3 separate regions of the Homo sapiens genome follow, and all the other regions are linked to region 1. Evidence: promoter capture Hi-C in 16 types of primary human blood cells and fetal thymus (Javierre and others, 2016). All regions are on one chromosome and are shown on one strand. The core of a region is centred on a gene start or on the middle of the fragment in contact, and the rest is flanking DNA. Distances in the headings are between cores, read along the strand shown. Region 1 holds the start of ANKHD1 (ankyrin repeat and KH domain containing 1). Region 2 holds the start of MALINC1 (mitosis associated long intergenic non-coding RNA 1). Region 3 holds the start of IGIP (IgA inducing protein).

Region 1 (4,667 bases), core at 955-3,454:
AAGGGACTACCCGCCTTATAACCCACACACTTTTTTTTCCAAAGCAAAATGTTAGGGTCAGAATGTACTAAGGTTTTAAATATTAAATAAAACCCTGTTCAGACCTAGAATGATAAGACAGTATACTAACTGCAGTCTGTAACCCACAAATAATTTCTCCTTATTCCTCTCAAATCCAAGAGCCGGGATTGTTAGTACACACAGAGAAATTCCTGTACTTTAACACCAAGACCAGAGGTTAAAATAACTGGTCACAGGTGACAACTCAGGCACCTCAGAACCAAAATAGAAGAAATACTCTGAGCACTTAAAACAATCACGGTACAGTACTCTACGCAAGCCACAGTCAACAGAAAAAAGTATACACATAAAATACCGCCCCTTGGGATCACAAGGTCAGGAGATCGAGACCATCCTGGACATGGTGAAACCCTGTCTTTACTAAAAAATACAAAATATTAGCCGGGAGTGGTGGCACGCGCCTGTAGTCCCAGCTACTCAGGAGGCTAAGGCAGGGGAATCGCTTGAACCCAGGAGGCGGAGGTTGCAGTGTGCCGAGATCGCGCCACTGCACTCCAGCCTGGCGACAGAGCGAAACTCCATCTCAAAAAACAAAAACAAAACCCGCCCCTTTTTCCCCAGAACCCAAAAGAAGTTAATGCCTACCATCCCAGGTTGCTCAGACCTAAAAATGTGTACACATTAGAGTACACACAGAAGAGTTAAAGAAATGAAGGACTTCACTGCAAAGGCAGAGTGAAGGTGTCCAGCCGGGCACGGTGGCTCATACCTGTAATCCCAGCACTTTGGGAGGCCGAGGCGGGCGGATCACCTGAGGTCAGGAGTTCGAGACCAGCCTGACCAACATGGTGAAACCCCGTATCTAATAAAAATACAAAATTAGTCGGGCGTGGTGGCGCACGCCTGTAATCCCAGCTACTCGGGAGGCTGAGGCAGGAGAATCGCTTGAACCCGGGAGGCGGAGGTTGCAGTGAGCTGAGATCACGTGTATTCTAGCGTGGACAACAAGAGCGAAACTCCATCTCAAAAAAAAAAAAAAAAAAAAAAAAAAGAAGAGGTTTCCACAGGTTGCCCCACTTTCTCCAAGCCTAAAACCTCCGAGTTCAGCTACCCAGCTATTCCGAAGCTCAGGGATGCCCTGGAACTTCCTTTTCCTGTCTAACTTCACAAAAGGTCCCAGAAGGAGGAGTCACGTGATTTTTCAGGGTAAAAGCCGAGAGATCCCTAATACTCAAACCTGTCTCAAACTGAAGAGGGAGAATAAGAACCGTCCTTAAGCACACAGGTAAGACACACACAAGGCAGAAGGCAAATAAACGTATCCCTCAACTCTGAGGAGAGGCAAAGAAGAGAAACGATCTTTGCACCAGCTCTGTCTCTGTCTCTGTTTGTCTCTCTCAGTACCAAGGGCAGGGACTCTGGCAAGACCCCGCCCCCCACCCCCAACTCCAAAGCAGGGTGGGCGGGAGGCAGCCTGAGGAGTCCCTGTTCCCGCGCGAAGCTCAGAGACCAAAGGACTCCCTATTGTGGGTCTACGAATGGTGACGGGAACCTGTCCCGCTCGAGCTAAAGAGTAAGCCGAGGGCTCACTAGGCCCTCACCGCGGCCACCGCCGCCATGGAGCCGACCGCTGTCACAGAAGGGCTCCACCAGGGAAGCGGGAGGATGGCCCCGGCCCAGAGCCTACCCAAAGAGAATTCACGCCTCACAATGTGTGGGAGGCGAGGGTCCCGGAGCCTTACCTCGGACACTTCGTCCTCGTCACTGCCAGAGGCACCACCTCCACCCCCGGTCCTCAGCACGGCAGCCGCCAACTTGAAATCCAGCGCCGCGTCCCCTCCGCCCGTACCGCTGCCGCTGCCGCCGCCGCCGCTGCTGCCGACTCCCGACGCTGGCCCGGCCTCCCCAAAGAGCCTCACGGTGCGGATCCCCAGACCGACCCCTCCCGGCGGAGGCGGCTCCGAGGCCCCAGCTGGGGCGGATCGCGGAGCCACAGAGTCCAGGTCCTCCTCAAAGGAGGTGCCGCCGCCTCCGCTATCAGTCAGCATTGTTCGCACCCGGAGCCGGAGACGGTGCCGACCCACTCGCGGTCACCGCCGCCGCTGATCTCGGGAACGAGAAGAGCAGCAAGAGGAAGAAGCGTCTCCTTTCCCCCGTCCCAGCAGCGCCACTAACTTCTCACTGCCTAACCTGCTGCCTCCCGCCCCCTCGACTCGCCACTGGCTGCAATACCCTGGCGGCTGCAGATCATTGGCCAAAGTGACCCGTCGCTCAGGCTCTTCGTCACGCGCCGCTCGCTGGCTCGCAGCCGCCAAGCTGCGTTGACCCGCGCAGGCCTAGGCGGTTGCGAACACCCGCCTCCCACTCTTCACCAGCTGACTTCCGCTCTTTTCCTATGTCTATTGGCCAACCCGCCTGACTATCGCGTCACGACCTTAAAGTGGATTAGTTGGCCTTGTGGTCAGTCATAGTGACCCCGAACAATGGGAGAATTCATTGGCGCCATAAAGTGTCGGTCACTTTGTCGCGGGACGTCGCGTGGTACAATTGGCCTGTGGGAGTACCATTGATCCCGCCCTCATCTGAGGTGACGGGAAAGGGCCGGGAAATTTCCACTTCTGAATAAAATGACTGCTGAAGTGATGACCCGCAAGAATTGGTCAAATTTGGAGTAGACTTCACCCTGCGCTTGGTGAAACTTCTACGTCAAGGATGCAAGAGGCGCCGAAGTAACGCAGCTCCCACCTGTCGCTCTCCGCTGGGCGCCGAGACTATGGCCGGAGAATAGCTGCACCGGGATTGGAGAAAGGAAGCCATCAGTCTTAGGAAGGCTCCACCTTCCTGCCATTGCCTGGTTGGAGGAGCGTAGCGTCAGTCACTAGAGCAGTCACCACCTCTGGGACAGGTGAAGATGTGTAACCTATTTGCCGGGGGCTATTTGGGAGGGAATAGAGGACGGGGAGCGATGAGGGGACAGTCGAGGGGCAAGGCCGATCTCGCTTCGCGCCTCCCGCCTTTCTGAGTTGAGCCTAGCGCGCGGGTCTGAGGGACATCCGGGGAGCTGCTTGGGATGGCCGCCTTGGGGAGACTCGACCCGCCCGCCAGGACCCGGCCGCGCGCCGCAGTTCGGGCGCCTTCGGGCAGGATCGCCCAGCGGGGCCGCGTTCTCCTGCTTGCGGACGGCTGCGGGCCTGAGGGCTGGACAGCGCCATGCCTCAGTACCGGGAACTGTCCCACGTAGGAAGGTGGGAATGCCGCGAACGGCGTGCGGAATCCGACCTCAAGGTGGAACGGGGTGGTGAAGAGTGCATGCTCCGAGGCAGTTTCGAGTTCTGGTGCTGCCACTTACTTGCTGCCTGACTTCGGCGCGTTTGCTGTTTCATTTTTGTGACTTTCAACTCGCTCCTCTGTGAAATGGGAGTAATATTAGTACCTTCCTCATTGGGTTGTTGTTATGAATAAATTAGATGATAATATAGCGCTTAGCAAAGTCCCAAACTTACAGGAAAGACTCATTTTTGCTAGTTATTGTCTCCTCTTCCTTCAGGAACTCTCTGCTCGCCCCTGGGTCCTGCCAGCCCAACTAATTCTAGTTCTAATCAGATCTGTGTGGTGCAAAACAAGGCTAGCTGTGGTGGTCTTCCCTCCTCTAAGGAGATCTCTTCCTCCCTATATGCATCTCTCTATCTCTGTCTTTATCTTGTCAGTAAAGAGGGGGGTTAAAAATATTCAGATTCTATAGCGGGCGCCGTGGCTCACGCCTGTAATCCCAACACTATGGGATGTTGAGGCGGGCGGATCATTTGAACCCAGTAGTTCGAGCCCAGCCTAGGCAACATGGTGAAATCCCGTCTTTACCAAAAATACAAAAATTGGGCTCGGCGCGGTGACTCACGCCTGTTAATCCCAGCACTTTGGGAGGCCTAGGTGGGCGGATCATTTGAGGTTAGGAGTTCTAGACCAGCCTGGCCAACATGGCGAAACCCCGTCTATACTAAAAATACAAAAATTAGCCAGATGTGATGGTGCGTGCCTGTAATCCCAGCTACTCGGGAGGCTGAGGCAGGAGAATCACTTGAACCCAGGAGGCGAAGTTTGCAGTGAGCCAAGATCGTGCCACTGCACTCCAGGTTAGGCGACAGAGCAACACATCGTCTCAAAAAAAAAAAAAAAATTAGCCGAGCATGGTGGTGCATGCCTGTAATTCCAGCTACTCAGGAGGCTGAGGTGGGAGGGATCCCCTGAGCCTGGGAGATGGAGGTTGCAGTGAGCCGAGATCGTGCCACTGAACTCCAGCCTGAGCAACAGAGCGGTGCCCTGTCTAAAAAAATTAAAAAAATAAAAAAAAAACGGTTTCTATCTAATCCTTTAATCAGACATGACCAAAAAAGGAGTCTGGTGGTTTGTATGGAAAATATCCTTTGACCCAGAGAATGTCCATATGATAACAGAATTTGGCTGAAAAAAAAAAAAATGGCCGGGCGCAGTGGCTCACACCTGTAATCCCAGCACCTTGGGAGGCAGAGGTGAGCGGATCACGAGGTCAGGAGATGGAGACCATCCTGGCCAACATGGTGAAACCCCGTCTCTACTAAAAATACAAAAATTAGCCAAGTGTGGCGGCGCGTGCCTGTAATCCCAGCTAC
Region 2 (4,667 bases), core at 851-3,350, 290 kb after region 1:
AGTAAAAATCAACACACATTTATAAAATAGACTTGGAAAGAGGTTGTCTACCTCTGGGTAGTAAACCCTTCTGATTATAGAGTTCCTAATAGAAACAATATGTTGATTAATATTTTACAAAATCACAAATTTCCAAAATAAAGAACATTAGAGCTTGTGTTTTCAAGTGATACTTAGATTAAATACCAGTCTTAAACCAGACAACTATCTTCAATACCCAAATCATTAAAACTAACTGGGATGTTGTACTGTAAATGTTCAAAGTGGAGGAATTAGCCATTTCTTCTCATGACTGTCTACCAAAAAAATTGAGAAACTCTCAAATAAATCTTAACATTTAACAACAACAATGACTAATAGTAACAGCATTTCCCAGATCGTTCTTTAAAAGCGTATTCCTTTTCCATAGCTCACTTAATCTTGAAAATCATGCCTCTTCAATGCTATTTTAATGTTTCGGATTAAAGATATGAAGTAAACATTTAATATATGAAGAGAACAATCCACTTGATAAAAATCCTCGCATTTCCAAAATGTTTTCATTTTAAGCATTTGCAGAAGTTAAATAAATGTAGCAGACATTCTAAATTCGATAAAAAATTCAGAGAACCCGACATTTTATGTACCCCAAAGGTCCAAACAGAACCGATGTAAATGTCAATAGCTGTCTCCCTTCCGGCTGATACTTAAATGGTTTTACTAGTACTCAAAGCAATGAAATCAGCAACTCTCTCTCCACACTCTAGTCAACACTCCAATTTCCAAAGCCGCAATTCGCAAACGTCAGTTGGGCGGGGGCGGTGGGGGATCTTGAAGTAATCCAAAAATTTCCTTTCCCCTTTGACAGTCCACCAAAAGATGTCAAACCAAATCCAGCCTATTGTAAAGCTCTGGGACCTCCCTTCCAAGGACACCGAACACAAGCTTAGACACCGCTGCGAAAAGCTGTCCAAAAGCGCCTGGCCGGACAGAAATGTAAGGAGCCCAGGCCAAAACGAATTAGAACCCCCAACAGAGGGTCCCGCAGACACCGCGGAAAAGAAGGTGGCATTTATTCCGGGGTAGACAGCTACGAACCAGTTACCCCAGCCAGTCTCTGGGGGCTCTCCAACCCAAGTTCAGGTTTATGGCAGATATATTGGTTGGGTGCCTTCCCCTACAAACATCACAGCCCGCCTCCGGGGCCCACCGCCGCTCACAGAGAAGACCCCTCAGCTTCACATCCGTTCCTTTTGCCCTCGGACAAAGGCAGAGGAGCTGTGGAGCTGACCCAGCGCTGTGGGGCAGTAAAAATGCCTTGTTCGGGCCACCCATCTTTGGGCCCGGCTTCATCTGCGATGTCAGCACCAAAGGTTTTTTTTTTTTTTTTCCTGGTTTTGTTTTGTTTTTACAACGCATCCTGGGCGGGTGTATGCATTTGGTGGTAGTGGGGTGGGGGGAACCGAACAGAGGAGGGGTTGGCAGTGAAGCCTGGGTTATAGAACTCTCCTTCCTCTCCCTCCTTCCAGGGTTGCCGTGCAGGGAGTGTCAGCCACGTCTAGCGCACAGTCCCAGGCCCCAGGGCGAAGGCGGCCAGGGGAAATGGGGCTCAGGGATTGCTAAGCAAACGCATCACTGGTGGTCTCCAGCGCCTGCGGAGGTAGGATCGCCTCTTTTCTTAAGGGGCGTGTTATTTTGTTCTCTTTTGAAAGTAGGAGGGGGTTCATTCGTTTCTCGCTGCGGGGGGTGGGAGAGAACGTTGCTGCACCGCCTGGGTCTCCAAGAGGGAGGGTGCGGGGATGTCTGCAATGGTACTATAATTATTCCTGGGCTGAGAGAGCAAGTAAAGGGGACGGGGCGAGCGTCACCTGGAGCTGTGGCAGTGGCAGCAGGGAAGGTCGCGAGGGGCTTACCCGGGCGGGCGGGCGCTGTCCTGCCGCAGGTGAGGGAGGGCGCAGGCTGGCGGGAGGGAGGGCGCGCGCGAGACAGGCGCGAGGAAGGGGGGAGGGGAGGAGGGCGCGCGCGCGCACACCTGTCCTGGACAGCGGCGCTAGCCGAGCTGCGCCTCACTTAGGCTCTGCGGGCTGAGGAGGAAGGAGGGCGGGCTGGCGGGCGGGGGCGGGACGCCGAGGGGAGGAGGAGGAGGCGGCTCGGATGGCTGGCTCGGCTCTCGCTCGCTCTCCCTCCCATGGGCAAGTCCGGCTCACACCCTGCTTCTCCCGCTCACTCACAGCCCCCTTGGCTCTCCCTCCTCCTCCTCCTTCCCCTGCGGGATCCGCTCGCCGCCGCCGCCGCCGCCGCAGACGGCAAGTCGTGGCAGCCAGACGTCGGCGCGTAACCCGGCGCTCCGTGCGTGACTCCAGGCGACGTCAGCGCGCGCTCCGCGTTCCCCACCCCTCCTCCCAACTCCGTGGCTCGCGCCCTTCGCTCTCGCGTCCCTCCGTTTTAGCTGCCGCCGCGGCGGCCGCCGAGCGCGCTCTTTCCGCCCCCTTCTCGCGCGTGAGCGCGCCCTATCGGCTCCTGGCGCGTCAACATTCCGCGGGCCAGGCCTTGGGGCGCGTCTGAGGAGGGGGATGTCTGTGGCCTCTCCGCCCACACTTCCTCCACCCACCGCCCACAGCGCCCCAGAAGGACCTATTACTCGTTTGGCTTCTGAAGGCCGAAGCCAGGCTCTGGCGGGGATAGAACCCTGAAGGGCCTGCGCCAGCTCCAACTTAGGGCCCTGTGCGTCGTTGCGACTTCTGCTACCACCCTATCACGCGGCACCCCCGCCCCAACTCCGCCCGGGTCTCTGAAGAGGCAATAGGCCTTTCATCTCCGGGGAAAGTCTCACCTTGGCCCTCAGACACCCGCCAAGAGGGGTCGGAAGGACAGAATTAGCATAGAGAAGAGTGGCTAGAGCACTTTTCAGGCTCTGGCCCCAGGAATCCTTGACAGGAAGCGTGGGGTTGCTGCCCAGCCTCCCACGCAGTGTAATATGTTGAAGCCGGGCCCCTTTGAGGGAATGCGACTTCCTTGGGCCGAGGGGGAAAGGGTAAAAGTTAATTTTCATAAAATGCTATGCAAGGGCTAAATGTGAAATTATAAAATGTCCTTTAAGACAGTCTTCTTGAAATCGTATCAAGTTTGACAAGATTTTTGGTGCACGGTAACGCTTTTGCTCGCTTTCTACGCTGTCACGTCTCCATCCTGCAACACTGAATACGTAGATGGAACGTGGATCAGCTAATAACTGCAGCAAAATAAAAACTGCATTTATCATCTTTATCATTATTTAAATAGACCTCCGAGAAGTCAAACTGTGATTTAGGAAAACTTAATCATTGCCTCAACCTATTTAACTATTTTGTTTTGAAGTTACTTTGCAAATATACCACAAAATCCCTCTTTGTTAGGCAGTGGTAGACTTTTAAACTCACTTGTTAGAGAATCTTTCCCAGAAGCATATCTAGTTGAGCCTGCGAGGCAAGTAGGACTAAGGTATAATTACTCCCATTTTACAGATGAAAATTTAGTTATCAAAATGTAAGTCAGTTGTTCAGCATTGTGAGGAGTCTATCACTGATAAAGGGAAAACTCTAAGGTCTATTATTGCCTGCTTTATTCACTAAACCAGAAATCTCTCAATTGTTTTTTTCCAAGTATCTTTTGCTGCCTCTTACGTATTGTAGGCAGTGCCTGATGGCTGAGAAGAATCGCAGAGGACTAGAAAAGGTTTGAGTCTGAAATTATCTGGCACAGAGGATTAAAGCTCAGAAATAAGTGATTGCGAAACAGTTCAACTTCCCTGTTAATGACAACAACAACAGCAACACGCTTATTAATTCCTAGCTGGAGGTGAGAAAATGAGACTGGCTTAAGGGTGATGGGTCATTTCCTTTGAATTGCTTCTTTATATTCACCTCATCTTTAGGTGGCAGCACTACTATATAAATATCCTTCGAAGTACAGTCTTCTGCATCTTAATATCCTAAAGGATATTCTGTCCTAAATGTTTCCAACTGTATTGTGGAGATTAGAAACTGGTGATTTAATGATCTAAAATCATAGCTGAGAATTAGAAAACTTGGAGGTTCTAGAGGAGGAAAAACAAAGGCTATCAGACACATTAATAAAATACATGGAGCTACGGAGGGAAAACATTAGAAAGTTTCAAGAAAAAAGTTTTTTAGGTGTATGAGGAGCAAGTAGCATCTCTTTAAACCTTGTCTTTTATTGAAACATAGGACAAGATAACCTTCCAAAGCAAACCATCCTTTCTCAGTACTGCATATTTATCAAGCATTTACAGGTTCGAAGTTGCTAGTTATATAGTTGCTTGTACTCAACTGTAATTTAAAAATTCCGATGCAGTTTTTCCTAATTAACAGCATCAAGCTTATGAAGATTTCCAAGACTTTATTGTTGACCCTTGTTGAAGAGAACTCTACTTGGCTTCTTTCCTGGCTTTCCTAAATTGTTCACATACAAGATAAACTACCGTCATTCAGACTTACAGAAGTGAGAAGACAAGCTGAACCAAATGTAAAATGGTAGCAATTTACAGGTAATTCTGTATCTTAATTTCTCCCACATTTTTAGGGTAAAAAATTGTGATATATGGGGGTTATTTGGATCAAGTGTTTTCTAAGTAGAACTTTGTCATAATTAATTTTATGTATTTATAGTAGTTCTCCCTGTGTCCCTTT
Region 3 (4,667 bases), core at 1,610-4,109, 280 kb after region 1:
AAATAAACATCTTTATTTTTTTGCCTACTTTATTTCATTTTTTCAAATAAAATTTAAATCTGTACAAAGTATACTGTTACAGTATATATTTTGTAAGAATCAATGCCTAAAATAATCACAATACTTCAATAAGCAGTACAGCAGACCTCGCTAGTTTTCAGCTTTGATATTGAACAAACTCAAGCCGGCTGATGCACAACACGTTTGCTTGGTTTCCACATGGTGATTTCCCAGCACTGAGATGGGAGAACATGACAGCAAATATGGTAATATTACAGCCCGACACACTGCGTTTCTTCATGTGATAATAACTGCACATATTTAATACAGAATGCTCAAATTTACTTTTTAAATTGCATTTGCTTACTTCTTAGTTGGCAAAATTCAGCATTCTTAAATGGGGTCCCCAAACAGTGCAAATTAATGATATTCTAACTGTATATTGGCACATCTCCAATAAGGATTAACTTGTAAACTCAAAGAATATCAACAACTTAGTCCTAAATTTTAACTAATATACATCTGGTCCATTTAACCAAAGTCATTTTGGAAAGATATTAAAGAACAATTCTATTTCTGAAAGGATATTGTTTTGACCATTCTTTAGAGAAGATAAATTTTTAAATTGTCATTAAAATGTTTCACTATAAAAATTTTACAAACTTGATTAGAAATTTCAAGATTATGATTCACAGCAGACAAATACAAACTGTATATTCCAACAATACCTATTCTTAGACTTTCAAACAGAGCACAACCATGTCAGCTGTGTTAACTAAAATTCTGAACAGTGTACTAAATTTATAAGTGGTGCTGGGTCTAGCAAGTGTAAATACACAGTATATTTCAATGAAAAGAATTGTCTTCTTTATACTTTATTTGTTTTCCCATAAGGAAACATTAATGTTTACATTCTTTAATAAAGTTAATCTTACATCAGAATATAACTTAATACTGTCAGCAACAGGGACCACACACAGTAAATAAGAAGCACATTTAAAATAAGTCTGATTTCACATAGATTAACATTTGTTGGTTAATAAAATATCGACAGTATTACAATCTTACAATATTTACAGTAAGAAAAATCTAGAGTAATATATACCTTTCACAGCAGGATTCCTTTTTTTAAAATTTCTTCCAGTTTGGGATTGTGTATACACAAAAAGCTCAAAATAAAGCAACTCTGCAATATAATCTTAAAATAATGGCTACTGGGGGAAATTCTATCACAACCATTGAAAATAATGGTGACTTCTCACGGAGTCTGTGGCATCTGAGAACCCAGTTAATTAACCAAAGTCTTGCTCATATTAGCCTCAGTTACCCAGATTAAAGCAGAACTCCGGCCTTCCCTGACTGCTGAAAACCCAACAGATTTTCTCAACATGCTATAAGGAAAGAGGAAAAATTGGTTTCAGCTCACACCTCATGGCTGGAAGCCTCTGGAAGCCTCCAGCCAGTGCACACTCCCCAACTTATGCTAAAAGAGGGCCAATTTCATCCCCACAGCATCACAAGAGTCCACCCTCCAACCACACAGTGCTCTGACACCAAGCTCACCCATTCCTCAACTCTTGTGCCTTAGGATAACACATGAACTTAGCCCACATAATACACACCAGCGTCTTAGAGACTTGAGACCAGGGCAAAGAAACAGACTAGTGTAGTTTGCACTGAGATCAGTAAGAAAAATGGGAAGTGATGCACATTTCCAATTAGAATGACAAGAAGAAGACCCACATCCCTAAACTGGAATTTGGCCAGGGCATCAGAGTTAGCACCCCCTCTCTGAGTACCGCTAGCGATTAGGATGTGTGCTCTGGGCCTCCTCTAAAAGAGAGCATCTACAGTAAGTAACACAGTATGGGACATTAGTTCAGTGACGACTGCCAAGAAAGCAGATACAATTCTTGAATCTGGGGCTGTCTACGGCACCTGAGGTCAATCATCCAAGCTGTGACCTGTCCCAACCCTGCTTACTTTAAGATATCTGATGGGCACAGAGCACTCAGGGATATGGCTGCTGGCTACTTTGGACTCTAGATCTCACAGGTAATCAACAGGTATCTGGGATTGAATTAGCAAACTGTACCATAGCTCCTTAAACAGACATTGTCAAGTCTGAAATCATGTCAAGCATGAATCTTCACTGTCAGGTCAGTAATCAAAGTGGGAGTCTTCCCACATCAGCCAAGGTTATTTTGTCAGAACCTTAGAGGAGTTGGACAGTTTTTCATGTTGCAAGTGATTGGTTTACTTATTTCAGTCAAGCTGGATTGGCAAACCAGACTGATTTATTTAGTGAGCTTTGTTTTTTTGATTCTTATGTGTGTGCTAACCCAAAGCTGTTGTATTTGGGCTAAATACACTGACAGAGAAAATTCAAACGACAAAAGTTTTCAGCAAACTTCTGTGGCATTTTTTCTTTTTGGAAGTAAATGCAAGATCTAAAGGTATTTCTACCCAACAACGTCTGTTTAAGTGTTTAATGTTATTTCCTTTTTGGTCCTATACAGAATGCTATGACTTCTATATAGGTCTGAATGCTGCTCCATGTAGATTCCTTCTGTATATCTAAAAATATATACTTTTCAGTAGTTCAATACATGGTTAATCTTCCCACAGAGGAAGATTTTTGTAATCACATGTTGCAAAGTAGAAAACATCTCCTTTCTAAGAAAGGAAATATACTTTCCTATTGTACACTTTTGAATAAGCCCAAAGGCATGCACCAAAAATCATTAATAAAACTAATACATGCAATAAAATGGTGTAGAGTTAGACTTAAAGTGCTGCTTCTCAATTTTTTTTAATTTGAAGAAGACATTTTGTCAGTTGTAGACTCAAAAATCTTTCCCCCACCCACCCTCCCCACCCCATGGCATTAAGAGAGAAAAGTAAAAAGTATGCATAAATCTTTTAACTATGCTTTACATGGGGGAAAGAACAGATGTATCAACTATCCTATATATCAACTGGATTCCCAGTTTTAAATAAAACCAATATTTACTGGTAAAAATTGTCAAAGCGAATACACGCAAACAAATGTTACTAGTAAATAAATGTTCTACATAGAGAATAATTTACTTTGGTTTTATGCGCCTTCTCAAAAATAACACTAGTGTCCCAACGTCACCAAACTGATGTGTTCCAGCAAAGTTGTAAGGCAAATCTTTTTTTCCCTAGTGACATCTTGTTTCCCAACAGACAAAACTAAAATCTTTTGGTGAGGAAGGGGTTAAGATAATGGCTAACCCCTTGGCATCCTGAGCATTGTGGTTTATCAAACTCTACCCTGCTAGAAATTGTCAGGCACCCTGACCCCTGCCTTGAACCAGGAAGGCTCCCATGTCTAGAGATGCCCTGACTCCTTATAAATAGCTTTCAGAACTTTGCTTTTTTCCCTTCTCTCTGGTTGTTATAATGTCTAACGAAGCTGGTTGCAATGTCACATTTTGCTAGTAGGGGCCACCATCTAACAATAATTCCAATATGAAAGGTTTTAAGCCAATAGTTGGTTCCTAATTTTATCAACGATTTGCACTAAAATTCTCTACAATTTACTTAGAGCAGAGATCTTTAACTTGGGTTTCAGAAGATGTGTGATGCCCCTGAAGTTGTATGCAAAATTATCCAGGGATGGGCATTTTTTTTTTCTTGGGTAGAGGATCCATCACACTGTCATCAGATTATCAAAGATATCTGTGACCCCCAAAAAGGGTTATAGGGACTTAGAGGGATACCCGTAATTCATTTTATACCAGGACTGGGAAATGGGGGCAGAAAACTAAAAATGGCCTCGAAAAAGGCCAGGGACAAATTGCTGATCTTTTCCCTTTATTCACATTGGGAAAATAAGTGCTTCAAACTGGAAAAATCATTAATTAAGCTGGTTAAACTCCATTAAAAAATAATCAAATCGCTTTCTAAATTTTTTTCATTTTCGATATGTGGTAAATTTTGTCTCCAAGAAAAGGTTTGGAGACTGAATTTTTCTCTTTTCCTAAAGGAAATTCATAGATAGAATGCTGAATATCATCCACATTTAAAGATTTGACAACATAAAAGTTAGATAACTCTTAATGATGTGAATCTTTAACTTATGATTTTGAGTAAAGGATTATCTAGAATCAAATATACACTTATTAATCTTCATTTCCCAAAATTGGTCCATATTTAGACAACTACCTGGCACAATTTCACTAGATAAACCTAAAATCTGAACAATGGAAGTTAAACTTCTACCCAAAGTAAAAACAAAGCCATAAGATTCCACAATTGAATTGGCCACAAACATTCACACTATGTTATAAAGGACTTTCTCATTTCAAATACATCACTGAATGTTCAACAGAATTTGCAAACATAAGATCCAGAATGACTAGCAAAACATGCTAAGAGCATGTCAAAAAGTAAAACACCACCTCTCCCCCCCCAATCTGGAAACACACTCAGGCATTCCAAAAATAAACCAGATCTGAAAAGAGGCCTCTCACTTGGTTTTAAGTATGAGGTGTGTACAAAGCTATGGGAAAGGGAATATAAAATGAAATAACCAAATAACTTACAAAAAATAATTTTAGCCAAAAACACATCTCTCTGTTCCATTGATAAAACTATCAATTTTTAAATTTTTTTGCAATTCTGAACACTGTGTTGCATAA

What was found. The method cuts DNA at HindIII sites, captures the fragments that hold promoters and counts their contacts. A CHiCAGO score of 5 or more calls a contact.
Region 2: a contact is called between the fragment with the promoter of MALINC1 here and the fragment with the promoter of ANKHD1 in region 1, in 7 of 17 cell types (non-activated CD4 T cells, fetal thymus, neutrophils and 4 more). The highest score is 9.3, in non-activated CD4 T cells.
Region 3: a contact is called between the fragment with the promoter of IGIP here and the fragment with the promoter of ANKHD1 in region 1, in 1 of 17 cell types (M0 macrophages). The highest score is 5.5, in M0 macrophages.

The regions. Positions count from the first base shown.
Region 1 is chr5:140,399,370-140,404,036 of GRCh38, reverse strand. ANKHD1 (ankyrin repeat and KH domain containing 1) reads right to left here and starts at 2,204. Exons shown (of 34, transcript NM_017747.3): 1 at 1,764-2,204. The coding sequence starts at 2,069. ANKHD1-EIF4EBP3 (ANKHD1-EIF4EBP3 readthrough) reads right to left here and starts at 2,204. Exons shown (of 36, transcript NM_020690.6): 1 at 1,764-2,204. The coding sequence starts at 2,069. ANKHD1-DT (ANKHD1 divergent transcript) reads left to right here and starts at 2,636. Exons shown (of 2, transcript NR_186045.1): 1 at 2,636-2,926. RefSeq lists enhancers at 2,001-2,890, 3,081-3,130, 3,221-3,370, 3,461-3,610. The HindIII fragment of the contact is 10,874 bases long and covers 1-4,667 here.
Region 2 is chr5:140,105,445-140,110,111 of GRCh38, reverse strand. It overlaps MALINC1 (mitosis associated long intergenic non-coding RNA 1), which reads left to right and starts at 2,100. Exons shown (of 4, transcript NR_102741.1): 1 at 2,100-2,703; 2 at 3,622-3,816; 3 at 4,350-4,525. LOC124900193 reads left to right here and starts at 843. Exons shown (of 4, transcript XM_047417990.1): 1 at 843-2,328; 2 at 3,651-3,816; 3 at 4,333-4,525. The coding sequence starts at 1,127. The coding sequence ends at 2,053. RefSeq lists enhancers at 1,289-1,790, 2,901-3,000 and silencers at 1,941-2,200, 2,211-2,270, 2,301-2,370. The HindIII fragment of the contact is 3,432 bases long and covers 927-4,358 here.
Region 3 is chr5:140,124,129-140,128,795 of GRCh38, reverse strand. IGIP (IgA inducing protein) reads right to left here and starts at 2,859. Exons shown (of 1, transcript NM_001007189.2): 1 at 1-2,859. The coding sequence starts at 319. The coding sequence ends at 158. PURA (purine rich element binding protein A) reads right to left here. Exons shown (of 1, transcript NM_005859.5): 1 at 3,177-4,667. The HindIII fragment of the contact is 9,298 bases long and covers 1-4,667 here.